Linked DNA regions of Homo sapiens: region 1 is linked to region 2. The links are contacts of gene promoters, found by promoter capture Hi-C in human tissues and cell types (Jung and others, 2019). All regions are on one chromosome and are shown on one strand. The core of a region is centred on a gene start or on the middle of the fragment in contact, and the rest is flanking DNA. Distances in the headings are between cores, read along the strand shown. Region 1 overlaps SNPH (syntaphilin). Region 2 holds the start of NSFL1C (NSFL1 cofactor).

What was found. Contacts are between HindIII fragments. The study calls those that stand out against the background at their distance.
Region 1: a fragment that was not itself captured here is called in contact with the fragment with the promoter of NSFL1C in region 2 in 1 of the 25 tissues and cell types used here (mesenchymal stem cells).

What each region holds. Positions count from the first base shown.
Region 1 is chr20:1,288,057-1,294,356 of GRCh38, reverse strand. The region is part of intron 2 of SNPH (syntaphilin); the gene reads right to left. Among named protein-coding and RNA genes, the nearest start is that of SNPH, 25 kb to the right of the region's middle. The HindIII fragment of the contact is 5,213 bases long and covers 1-4,861 here.
Region 2 is chr20:1,465,246-1,471,600 of GRCh38, reverse strand. NSFL1C (NSFL1 cofactor) reads left to right here and starts at 4,752. Exons shown (of 9, transcript NM_016143.5): 1 at 4,752-4,881. The coding sequence starts at 4,777. It also overlaps a transcript of SIRPB2 not described here. RefSeq lists a silencer at 4,458-4,727 and an enhancer at 5,022-5,523. The HindIII fragment of the contact is 15,990 bases long and covers 1-5,652 here.

The sequences.
Region 1 (6,300 bases), core at 1,006-3,505, 170 kb after region 2:
TCTTGACCAGGAACAGCTTAGGGTGCAGAGGGGCACATGGGCAAGGGCTCCAAGGATCACCTGCCATTGCCTGAATCCTTCAGTGGTAAGGTGGCCATGCTGAGTGCTCTCGTCTGCCTTGGCCCATTACTTGAAGCAGCAATCCTTCAAGGCCGGCTTTGTTACTGCATTTGGGCCCAAGGTCACACAGCTGCAGGTGTGACATGCTCTGGCTTCTGGCCCAGGTCGGCCTGGCTTCACCAACAACTTTCCCACCATCATCCCTGCCCTTCTGGCTTTTGGGAGGATGCAAAAAGGAGGCTGAGCCTTCAGGAGGACTTTCCAGCAGAGGCAGGACTCAGATCTGAGGATGGGCTCTTCCAAGCCAGTGTGAGTGAGTGTTCTAAGGAGCCAGGAAAGTCCAGGCAGAGTGCTAGGCCCAGTCCTGGGAGGCAGGCAAAATGCCTGGTTTGTCTTGGAGCTGCGTGTGGCCTTGCTACAATGAGGGCCTTGTCCCAGCTGTCCCTGCCACTATCTTGCTTGGCTACCCCACACCTGCCTCCTCTTGAGTTCCCTCTTCCTTCCTCCCTGGCCTGGGGGAGGGAAGGGGGTGGCACTTGTACCTGCGTATAGCTAACAGTCTCCTGGGCACCCAGAGCCAGGTATTCATTAGGGACAAAGGTGGAAGACGCATTTCCCCTGCTGGGATGGGACCTTGCAGGCAGGGTCCCTCATGGGAGGGCAGAAGCCACCCAGGCCCAAAGGGAGCCACCTCTCAGGATCCTACTCAGAAAACTCAGTGTGCATCCTGTGCTCTCTCAGGTCCTCCCTCCCTTCTAGGCCCTAGCAAGGAGGCAGGTTGCCATGGTGTTTGTCACCATGCCACCTGCTTAGCCTGGAGTCCCGCAGGCCTCTCCCCAGGTGGCCAGAGGCTGCCACTTGGAAAGGAAGGTAGAAAGAAAACCCTTAACTGTGGGAAGCTGGGCTGATAGTCTCTCATCACTTTAACCCCAGAGTAAACCCAGCCCCTGCCCTCACTGAACTTCCCTCCACTTCCCCATCTTGTCCACACCATAGCAACCCTGCTGCATCCACTCCTTTGACTGCTCCCTCAAATGCTCAACACTTCCTAACCCCCCCGACAATGGGGGTCCAGGGAGCATGAGACTAATGACTGCAGAAGTCAATATGAACTGATCTGGGCTCAAATGCCAGCTCTGGCACCCTTCAGCTGCATGCCTTGGGCAAGTCACCCACTTCTCTGAGCCTCACTGCCCATATCTGTAATAACTGGGGCTCTAATGAATGCACCTCATATGGTTACTGTGAGAATAACATAAAATAATGTGAGTATGGGGCTTAGGTCAGTGCCTATCACACAATAAACACTAAAACATGGGGGCAGCCAGTATTTTGGAAGTAACATGAAGTGAGCTTCAAAACAGAAACACATTCAAGCCATAATAGTGTCTTCAGGAGGATCCAGGAACGCTTCTCTACACAAGAAATTTGCACTGGGTCTTGAGGGATGAATAAGAGTTCACCAGGTGGCAGCAGAAAATGGGAGGGAAGGAGAAGTCTGGACACAGGCAGTGAGTGACAGCTGGCTGCTCAGAAACTAGGGAGCCTGTTGAGGGCAGAAGTACAGTGGGAGTGAGGCTGCAGAAGGAGGGGGGCAGGCCACACAGAGCCACTTAAGCCAGGATCTTGTCCTGTGGGCAACAGGAAGCCATGCAAGTGCTTTATAGGAAAGGGGCACAATCATATTTGCATTTTAGAAAGTTCCTGATAAGGAGCCTGTGTGGAGAGGGAGGGATACCAGATACCAGTTAGGAGGTTACCAACCAGGGGAGAAATTAGGAGGGCCTGGGCCAGGGTCATGGCAGGAACAATGGAGAAAAGGGCCTGGACCCTGTTCAAAATTCCTTGGAAGTCCCAGATTAGGTAAAAATCAGAGCAAAGCTCTTGATGTGGGTGCTTAAGGCCCTCTCATCTACAACCTTTCCAACTGGCTCTCTGATACATCCAGGAGACCTCGGCTAGTCACTCCCAAATCTGCATCTCTACATGGGCTGTTTGTCCCATCTGCAGCATCTTCCCTGCCTGTCCTCAGGCATACATTGCACTCTTTCTTTAGGTCCCACCCACAGCCTTTCCACCAGTGACTTCTCCTATCACTTACTGTCTTGACCACTTAGGATGCTATGCCTTAGACTAAAACTCAGGGAACACCATCCCCTGGGAAACTTCATAAAAACAAACACAATCAACACACAACTGTTGGTAATACAATGGTTTAAACAAGCACATTGAATAGACCAAAGAGTCAGATTAGATGGTCTCTAAGGTGCTCTGGATCTAACATTCTCTAATTCTAGAGCTGTCAATGAAATTATGGGCTTCTAATTGATGCTTCTTTCTCCTTCATTACTAGGACTTTCGGGTCTCAGTTTCCACATATGTAAAATTAGGAAGCTCCATTCTTCAAAGAGACATGATAGCATTTTCCCCAATCAACAGTCATGGGGGAAAAACCAGGTGCTTGGGTTAATCTAATATTCCAGCTAAGCAAAAGTCCCTGTATGTACTATAATTTATCTTCTTTCAAAGAATTAGCCATTGATACAAGAAGAAAGCTATCCTAAAATCCGAGGGAACAGAACAATCTGTGTCTGATGACTCAAACCACTGACAGCTGTGGAAAGCAGAGCATTGCAATCAACAGAGCAGAACTTGGGAGGGATCCTCTCTTTGCCAAGGTAACACTAGAACGCAGAACATTCCACCCATCAGACAGCAGAGTGCCTGGTGCTCCTAGAATGCTAATGCAGAGAGGTGGGAATAGAAGACAGGCCTGGGAGTGTTCCAGCAGCCACACTCTAGATCTCAGAAGATTAGCACTACCAGGGCTATTCACAGCTGAGGAGTTCAGTAAACCCTGCACTGGCTATGGCCTCATCAGCCACTATGTGCCTCTGCTCCTCCTTTGTCAACAAAACCTAGGATCTTCCTTCCAGGACTTGCTGGCATTTCTCCAGCTTGCTTCCTGTTTCCCACACAAGCCACCCTCAAAGCTGGGACCACACATGAGGCGCCATCCGACTTCTTCTCACTGTTGTGGCAACCCCAACACAGCGGCAAGGCAGACCCACAACTTGGCCAAATGCTGTGAGAAGCTTCCCCAGGCAACCAGCATAGGTTGAGGGCTGAGGCAGCTGCTACACAGGATGTGTCTCCAGTGATTAGACTCAGATTCCAGAGCTGAAGGGCATCAAGCCTAGGTCTTCAAACCACCCAAGAGGACTTGCCTCTGCACCTACTGGGAGGGGTGGCTTGGGCCTCCTCCCCCATTTCACCTGAAGAGGCTCCTCTCGTATGTGTTTTACATATGGAAGGTGTGAAGTAAGACTACTTTTTAAAAAGGATTTTTCAGGTTAAAAATCTATGGAATACTTATTTTCCACAATGAGATATTGTTTCACATTCACTAGGATGGCTAGCATAAAAAAGATGGACAATAACAAGCGTTGTCAAGGATGTGGAGAAGTTGGAACTCTCATGTATTGCTGGTGGGGATGTAAAATGACGCTGCTGCTATGGAAAACAGTTTGGTGGTTCCTCGAAAAGTTAAACATAGAATTGCCATAAGAACCAGCAATTCCACTGCTAGGTATATACCCCAAAGAATGGAAAATAGATGCTCAAACAAAAACTTGTATAAGAAGTGTACTTCACAGTAGCACTATTCTTAATAGCTAAGAGGTGGAAATAACCCAAATGTCCACCAATAGAAGAATGGATAAACAAAATGTGATGCGTCTATGCAATGGAATATTTAGCTATAAAAGGAATGAAGTATTACTGATCCATGCTACAACACAGATGAACCTTGACAACATTATGCTAAATGAAAGAAGCCAGATACGAAAGGCCGCATATTGCATGATTCCATTTATATGAAATATCCAGCACAGGCAAATGCACACAGACAGAAAACACACTGGAAGGGAAGAAGGAACAGGGAATGACTGGTAATGGGAATGGAGTTTCTTTTTTGGGAAGATAAAAAACGTTTTAGAAGTAGCTAGTGGTGATGGTTATATAATTTTGTGAGTATCCTAAAATCCCTGAATTGTACATTTTAAAAACTTAATTTTTTTTTTTTTGAGACAGAGTCTCACTGTGTCGCCCAGGCTAGAGTGCAGTGGCACGATCTCAGCTCACTGCAACCTCCGCCTCCCGGGTTCAAGTGATTCTCATGACTCACCCTATCGAGTAGCTGGGATTACAGGCACGCACAACCACACCTGGCTAATTTTTGTATATTTTAGTAGAGATGGGGTTTCTCCATATTGGCCAGGTTGGTCTTGAACCCCTGGCCTCAAGCAATCCACCCACCTTGGCCTCCCTGCTCCCAAAGTGCTGGGATTACAGGTGTGAGCCACTGCATCTGGCTATTAAAAGGATAAATTTTATGGAATGTAAATTATATCTCAATAAAAAACAAATTTTTAAAAATACATGTGATATATATTTAATTTTTTTTTAGAGCCAGGGTCTTACTCTGTCACCTAGGCTTGGAGTGCAGTGACAAAATCATAGCTCACTGCAGCCTCAAACTCCTGAGCTCATGCGATCCTTCTGCCTCAGCCTTTCCAGTAGCCACCTCACCTGGCTAATCTATTTTTTACTTTTTTTAAAGGTGGGGTCTCACTATGTTGCTCTTGGTGGTCTCAATCTCCTGGCCTCAAGCCATCCACCAGCGTCACCTCCTGAGTTGCTGGGATTACAGGTGTGAGCCACCATGCCCCTGACTCCATTGTGTGTGTGTGTGTGTGTGTGTGTGTGTGTGTGTGTGTGTGTGTATTTAAATGAACCGTTGCATTAATAAAAAGACAGGCATGGTCCAGAAAGGGGTAGAGACTCTTCCAGAATGGCTCAGCAAGTTGCAGCAGAAGGGGAGCAAGAGCCAGTGCCCCCCCTCTACCTGACTTCAGGTAGCTGGGCCCAGGATGCTTCCCTAGACTTTGGGTCAGCCTGGAGGAGACTGGTAGCTGAGGCTGCCCCTAAAGCTCTTGCATATTCACAACTTCGTTGAATCCTCACACAAATTCCCCATAGAGGGAGGCCAGGTAGAGACTAGTCCATCTGATCTATGGGAAACCTGAAGCCTCAGAGGTTACAAGAGTCACCAAGGGCTGGACCCTGGATTTCCAGGTCATGGGCACCTGCATTTCTACTGCATCATGAAGGTCTCATAATACAGTAGACCTGGGACACTTATCATTCTGCTGCATAAAAGAAAAAACCTACTTTTCCATGAGACTCTAAGATACCACAATGGAGATGAGCAGGTATATACCTGCATTTTGGGCTGGTCATACTTCCATAAAAGCAGGGCATCACAGACATAAGAGGTAAGCATACTACAGAGAGTCGTTTAAAAAGAAATTCTTGGCCAGACACGGTGGCTCACACCTGTAATCCCAGCACTTTGGGAGGCCGAGGTGGGCGGATCACCTGAGGTCAGGATTTCAAGACCAGCCTGGCCAACATGGCAAAAACCTGTCTCTATTAAAAATAGAAAAATTAGCTGGACGAGGTGGTGGGTGCCTGTAATCTCAGTTACTCGGGATGCTGAGACAGGAGAATATCTTGAGCCTGGGAGGCAGAGGTTGTAGTCAGCCGAGATCACGACATTGCACTCCAGCCTGGGCGACAGAGTGGAGACTCCATCTCAAAAAAAAAAAGAAAAAAAGAAAAAGAAATTCCTCATGTGCCTTCTCCCTAACTAGTGACTTTCCCTGTTCCTCTAAGAATCAGCCTCGCAGGCAAAGGAGAAGCCCTTTCCATGAGGAGCACTGCTCTTTCCTCTTCCAACAACTGCTGCGTCCCACCCAGCAGCCCAGCTGCTGTGCAAGCCCACCACTGAGAGACCCTCAGCTCCTCTGAGCCATATCACATCGTCCATCTTGGTGACCTTGGGTCTTTGACCTCTGTTCGTCTCAGCTGTCTCATGCATTCACTCAGGAAGGCGCCACCTTCCTGGCCCTGCTGTCTCTTTGGGATCCAACCAAGGTAATGAATGGAGGGATGGGGGTAGTTCTTGGGAAATTAGAGGACTGAACATTTCTTGCTATCACTATTACCTGTCGAAGGAGATCTCTCTTTTTCCCTTCTTCAGAAATAATTCTTGCTTTATCACCTCAGCGGACATCAGCAGGCCCAGGCATGAGTGACTCTGAAATGACTGGCAAACTCTGCTAGGCCAAGTGACCTGGGCTGGCTTTCCAGGGCAATGTCTGGCAGGCCTCCCGTCTG
Region 2 (6,355 bases), core at 3,503-6,002:
TGGGGAATGCCAGGCCTAGTCAAGCACATTTCTAAATTCTATCTAAATGGCACTGATTAATGGCACTTTGCTACACAGATCATTCTCAACCTTGCTTTCTGACTCAACATTTGAGTTATATCCAGGTTGGTTACCTGTAACTCTAATTCATTCATCTTCAGAACTGTATAGTATTCCATTGTATTAACATATTACATTTGTGATTTCTGTTGATGGATGGAGACCTTAGTTGTTCCAGTTTCTCGCTATCCCAAACAGAGACAGTTTCACTGTGTCTCCTGATGCATGCACAAGTGCACACACCCACAAGTAGAACTGGAGGGTTATACAGGTTCTGTGCTTCTTCAACTCCACTAGATTGGCCAAATCATGCCCCAATGCCATTAAGCCAACATATACTGCTGTTAGACACAGGAAAATTCCTGTTGTTTCAGGCTTATGCCAATATTTCCTATGGTCACATTACAGGGAAGTGCGGGAATCTTCAGTTCTTGTCTGCTTGGAAGAAAGATTTCAGCCAAGAGACACACAGCAAAGGTGAAGTAGCAGAGTTTATTGAAGAAAGATAAAGTACGTTCCTAGAAAGGAGTGGGCTGACCTGGCTGGAAAACAGCATCAGGCAAAAAACAGCAGTAGCAGTGTTTATTTAAAGAGACAGTACACTCTGAAAGAACGAGCCAGCAGCAGCTGGTGCTGGGGGACCCTCTTTATGAGAATCTTACATGATTATTCGTGCAGGGGCATGAGGGAGCGTCACTTACAATCATGTTTTAGGTGGTCCCCCTGGCTGTGAATGTTGTGTGTTTGTACGCGCTAGTAAACACATTGCCTGTCTCATTAGCATTTAAAATCTCCACTCAGGGGTGTGTTTTGTTGTTATTATTATTATTTTTTGAGACAGAGTCTCGCTCTGTCACCTAGGCTGGAGTGCAGTGGTGTGATCTCAGTTCACTGCAATCTCTGCCTTCCGGGTTCCAGCGATTCTCCTGCCTCAGCTTCCTGAGTAGCTGGGACTACAGGCACGCACCACCATGCCTGGCTAATTTTTGTATTTTTTTAGTAGAGACGGGGTTTCACCATATTGGCCAGGCTGATCTCAAATTCCTGACTTCGTCATCCGCCCACCTCGGCCACTCAAAGTGCTGGGATTACAGGCATGAGCCACTGTGCCCGGCTTGTTATTATAATGAGCAAAAGGCTACTGTAGGGCGAGTTACTGGAGGAGTGCACATGCTCGTCAGTGGGAAAGTCCCTACCATGGTTATCTCTGGGTAAGGCCTCATAAGTCCCCTTTAGGGCCAGAGGAGCCCAACCACAAGGCCAGAAGTTGCCAGTGTAGCCATTGTCTCTTTGCTGGCCGCCAGTGGGTGGCGCTGACTGTCAGTGAATGGAGTCTCCAGGACTTCTTTTCCCAAACGCTCCCTTGCCTGCTTATTTCTGGCTATCTGCCTACTCTAACAGTCAGACTTGTAAATGTTTTACCAGTTGGATAAGGCAAAAGGGAATCTCATTGCAGTTTTCATTGGTTCTCACTGCTGACTAATGCAACCAAGCATTAGTCACCGGCTGGCAGTACTGTTATTTTATTATTATTGTCATTAGTTGAAGATGTTGTGAAAAGAGAGACAAATAGTCCCAACTTTGCTGAGGCAGTGGTAGTGTTGTTATTATTATTATTATTTTTTTTTGAGACAGAGTCTCGCTCTGTCACCTTTTGTGAAGAAGAGTGGTAGAAGAAGGCAGTGCTGAGGCTGAGGTAGTAGAGAAGGGTGAGTGGTACCGGCAGCTTCCATGTATAGGGGCCTCTGGAAGGTCTGAATGTCAGCTGAGAAATCAATCATTTGCTCCACCTAGCAGCTCCCCTGGCCCCCTAAGCTATAGAGGGTTTAGCGCTTAGGGGACTGGAGTAGGGGGTCAGAGGAGACACCAGTCCTGGGTACACACAGCTCCTGCCCAAAGTGAAGTCACCACCAGTGAGGACACGGCAGAGGGGGTGCCAAAGGAAGGCTGGGGTGGGGCGGGAGGTGGTGGAAGATAGGATTAAAGGGAGGGGCTGGGGTGAGACTGGAGTGGGAAGGAAGATGGAGATGAGCCCGGAGGGGGCTGGGGGTGAAATGGAGTGAAAGTGGGCTTTGGAGGGTGGGGTGCATTTAGTACTGAGGGTGGAGTTAGAAGGGAAAGTGGGGCGGGGTGGGTCAGGTGCTGGTGGCGGATCTGTGAGGTAGAGGTGAGGCTGGAGGTGGTCGTGGTGGTAGAATTTGGGGATGGGGCTTGGGTGGGATGGGGCTGGAGGTTGGGGGCTGGTGTGGTTGGACATAGGAGAGTGGAGCTAAAGCTGAGCCTGCAGCACCTCCTTCTCTAGTTTTGTTAAGGACACTTAGATAAGTGTTATGTAAATGTAGTTTCAAGTTCATGCCCTCACATCCCCTGCCTTAAACTCCAGTTGGGTCATCTGGAGCTGCTTCCAGAAACCAGCCATAGGAAGTGACCAGCACAGTCCTGCAGTCTAAGGAGAGACAGTGTGGTGTAGCGGTTAGAAGCAGACTCAGGAGCTGTGCCATACCTGGATTCAAAACTCTTTAGAAGTCTAGGTTTCCCCATCTGCAAAATGGAAATGATAACAATAGAACTCACTTCATAGGGTGCATGAGTTAGTGTATCTAAGGCTCTTTGCAGAGTGTCTAGGGGCATAGTAAGTGCTCAGTAAACACTAGCTGCCAGGTAGTGTTATGGGAAAGGATGCCCTCAAGTCCTCTAGAAGAGGGATCAGGGACCCTCTGGCCGAACAAAGAGCTTTCCCTGATGGCACAAAAATGAAGAGGGGGGGTGACAATGAGTTTCAATGACTCCAATACCAGCCAGGGAACTGGACCTTGAGGAGCTGATCGCCTGCAGATCTTTAAGCTGGGGTTAGTCGTTGTCAGTTTCCAGGGTAGAAAGACCTTACTGGTTGCCAATCGTGAGGTCCAGAGTGAGCCTCTAGCTTCTTGGACTTCCTGGAAAGTTGGGGTGCATTTCGAGTTGACACAATGATGAAAGGGGTAAGTCCTAGGGACCGGGGCTGGTCCTGGGTGGCCTTGCAATAGAAAGGAGAGTCTCACACCACAAAGAAAGGACCCTCCTCCCATGCCTCCTGCCAGGGCCTATTGTGGCTGCAACCATGCTCCTAATAACCTAACCCAAGCCCTAACTCGTTTGTCATATAAACTTAAAGGATTTCTTGCACAGTGTTAATAAGACACCGAATTTTCCAGGAAAGCAACTATTGTGTCAATTGAGGGAAGACTGGACTTTGTGCTGTTCATAACCTGATTAAGAGGGGTTTTGACTAAGCCTGGGCACCTTCTCAAGGTCTCCTTGAGAAAGGGACACCTGAACTGAGAGCTGAAGAATGAGCAGGGGCCGACAGAGGAAGAGGAAGGGAAGAGTGTCCCACGGTGGTGTTGGAAATTAAAGCTCGAAGTCTCAAGGAAAACCAGCACTGAAATAAAAGATTTTTCAGCAAAGCCAATTTACTTCTGCAGAAGGGTGCCACTCACACATCTGGTCTTCAGGAAAGCACACCGAACAAAAGAGAGAAGGGGTTTTTATCCCTAATGCGGTTAGTCGCTGCTTCTGTGTCCTGTTCCCATTGGCTGGGGCTGGACTGCGCAATCTAAGCTAATCCCGATTGGCTAGTTCAAATGGAGCAGAAATGTGGGCTACAGTGGTAGGGCAAGCGGTTTCGGCAGGAAGAAGAGTTTCCGCGGGAATGGCAATTGTAGCGAGGGTATCCAAGGGAACAGATGTGAGTTATAGATTAGGACCCGCGGGAAGGTTGTTTACCGTAACTAGGGGTAAGGAGGTACAAAGAACAAGGAAGTTAGGCTTTGAAAATAGAGAACAAAGAACAAGTAAGCTGAACAAGTAAGTTCCTCTTTGGAGAGGCAAGAGGGCAAAGAAGCTGAGGACCCAGAAGACAGGATTGTGCCTAAGAAAGTGGCCTTGGAGCAGAGGCCCAAAGAAAGCGGGGAGAGCGCCTTGCCCATCGGTAAGGGAAAGGTGCTCCAGGCACAGAAGCAGCTAATGCAACGGCCCTGAGGCAAATGCAAGATAACTGGCAAGTTCCAGGAACAGCAAGGAGGGCAAGGCGCCTGGAGCAGAGGAAGCTAGCGGATCCCTTGATGAGAGGGAGGAACTGGCCCATCTCTCATGGGTCCTGCAGGCAGGCCATGAGACTGTCTTTTATGCGGGGCGAGATAACGAGGCATGGACGTGTTGTGAGCGGAGGCCTAGCCTGTTCAAGGTCTGAATTTTTACCCCTAGAATGTAAGAAGCATGGGAGCAGGGACTTTGTTTTGCTCCCTGCCATATCCACAGCCCTAGAAAAACGTCGGGCCATTGATAGCTCTCAGTAAATGCTTGACAAGTAAGTGAATGAACGAATGCACAATTAATGAAATGAGGGCTGCGTCAATGAATAACTGGGAATCTGACTCCTGCAGGGAGCCTTCAGCCCACAGGTGTATGTAAGACCCGCCCCGCCTCTCATCCTTCGGGCTCCCACCCCCGCCGTTAGGCTGCGGTTCGCGCCGCGGTCGCCAGAGGGCGCGGAGCGGCGGGGCTTCCCGCACGGAGGGCTTTGCGTGAGGCACCGCGTGGGGCGGGGCTGCGGGCGGGCTCCCAGCTGCTGGGCCCTCATCGGCTGGGCCTCGTCGACCGGCAAGCGGAACGCGGCAGCGGGGCTGGGCCTGTGCGGCGGCCGCCGGAGCGCTTTGGAAGGCGCACGGGGCGAAGATGGCGGCGGAGCGACAGGAGGCGCTGAGGGAGTTCGTGGCGGTGACGGGCGCCGAGGAGGACCGGGCCCGCTTCTTTCTCGAGTCGGCCGGCTGGGACTTGCAGGTAGCGCCGCGCGGCGGGCTGTGTCGGGTGGGCCGGGGACTGCTGGGAGCGGGCGCCTGGTGCCTTAAGCCCGCGGCGGCCGAAGCGCACAGTCATCCCCGCTCTACCGCGGCCCGACCCAGGCCTCATGGTCCCGGGACCGCTTGTCACGCGTCGCCTGCTCGGCTTGGGAGTGGGGGAACGCGGGCCAGCCCCAGCCAGTTCTGCCGTGCCAGTTTCACCCTGCCTCGCCCGCTTGCGGCGTCAGCGAGACTTCGGGCGCTGCGGCAGCCGGCGAGGAGAGGGAGCGCCTGGGGGCGTGGCTGCCGCGCCGAGTATCTGCTGGAGGCCGGGCTGGTCCGAGTGAGCAGCTCTTGGGTGAAGCCCCACTCGGGACTAGGTGGCCGCTCATTTCCACTTCCGAAGTCCAGCCCGGGAGTTGACCGCCGCCCAGCCTTCCTAATTGCTGGGAGAATACCTCTGGGGTGGTGGCGCAAGGTTGGAGCTTCTTCACCTTGCGTAGTTAACTTATCTGTAAAATGGGAGTCTCGTGGAAATTGCTGTGTAGTTCATTGGCACGTACTGAGTATTCACTAAATACTTGCTAAGAAGACTTAAGCTTCACGAGGCAGGGATTTTTGTACACTGATGAATTCCCAGTGCCTGGAACAATGCCTGGCACATAATAAGCATTCGGTAATTAACTGTAGAAAGAATTGCATAAATATTCTTGGCCAGCTTCGTCTTAGGTAGATGATGACGGTGATGACTAATATTTATTGAGTACCTACCATGAGCCAAGCGCTGTTCTGACTGCTTTACATGTCTTTTGTCATTTAACCTTCGCATTTTGCAGCTGAGATTAAAGAGGTTAAGTAACTTGCTCAAGGCCTCACTAGCTACCAGGCAGAAGAGGTAGAAGTGGAACCCAGTTCTGTCTGATTGCAAGCAGACAGAGCCCAAGCTTTAAACCACCATGTGCCAAGCACTTTACATAATATGATTCGTTGGATCCTAGCAACACTATGAGGTAAAGACTAGACCCATTTTATGGATGAGGAATTGGAAGCACAGAGGGCAAAGAATTTGCTCAGGGTCACATAGCCAGTAAGTAGCGGGGTTGGAATTTGAACTGAGTCTGCTGCCAAACGTAAATTACTCCCCAAACATAAGAATTCGGTAAAGCATCACACCTAGATCACACCTAGACACAATGGGAAGCCCCTATGCTGGGCAGAAATAAAAAGTTTCTACCTGAAAGACCTAAAAGCACACAGTGTTGTGACCAACAGATCTTCTGTCTCGTTCCCCTCACATTGTAGTGGGGAAACTGAGGATCATGCATGTGACTTGCCTGGCAGGAACAGGACTTGAATGTAGGCTCCCTGAGAATGCCAGTTCACTACATGGCCTGAGACAGCACACTGCCTCCCAGCAGATTACTTTTATCCCTTGACAGCTCACTGTCTCCTGTGAAGTTGGTGACCCTGAGGAC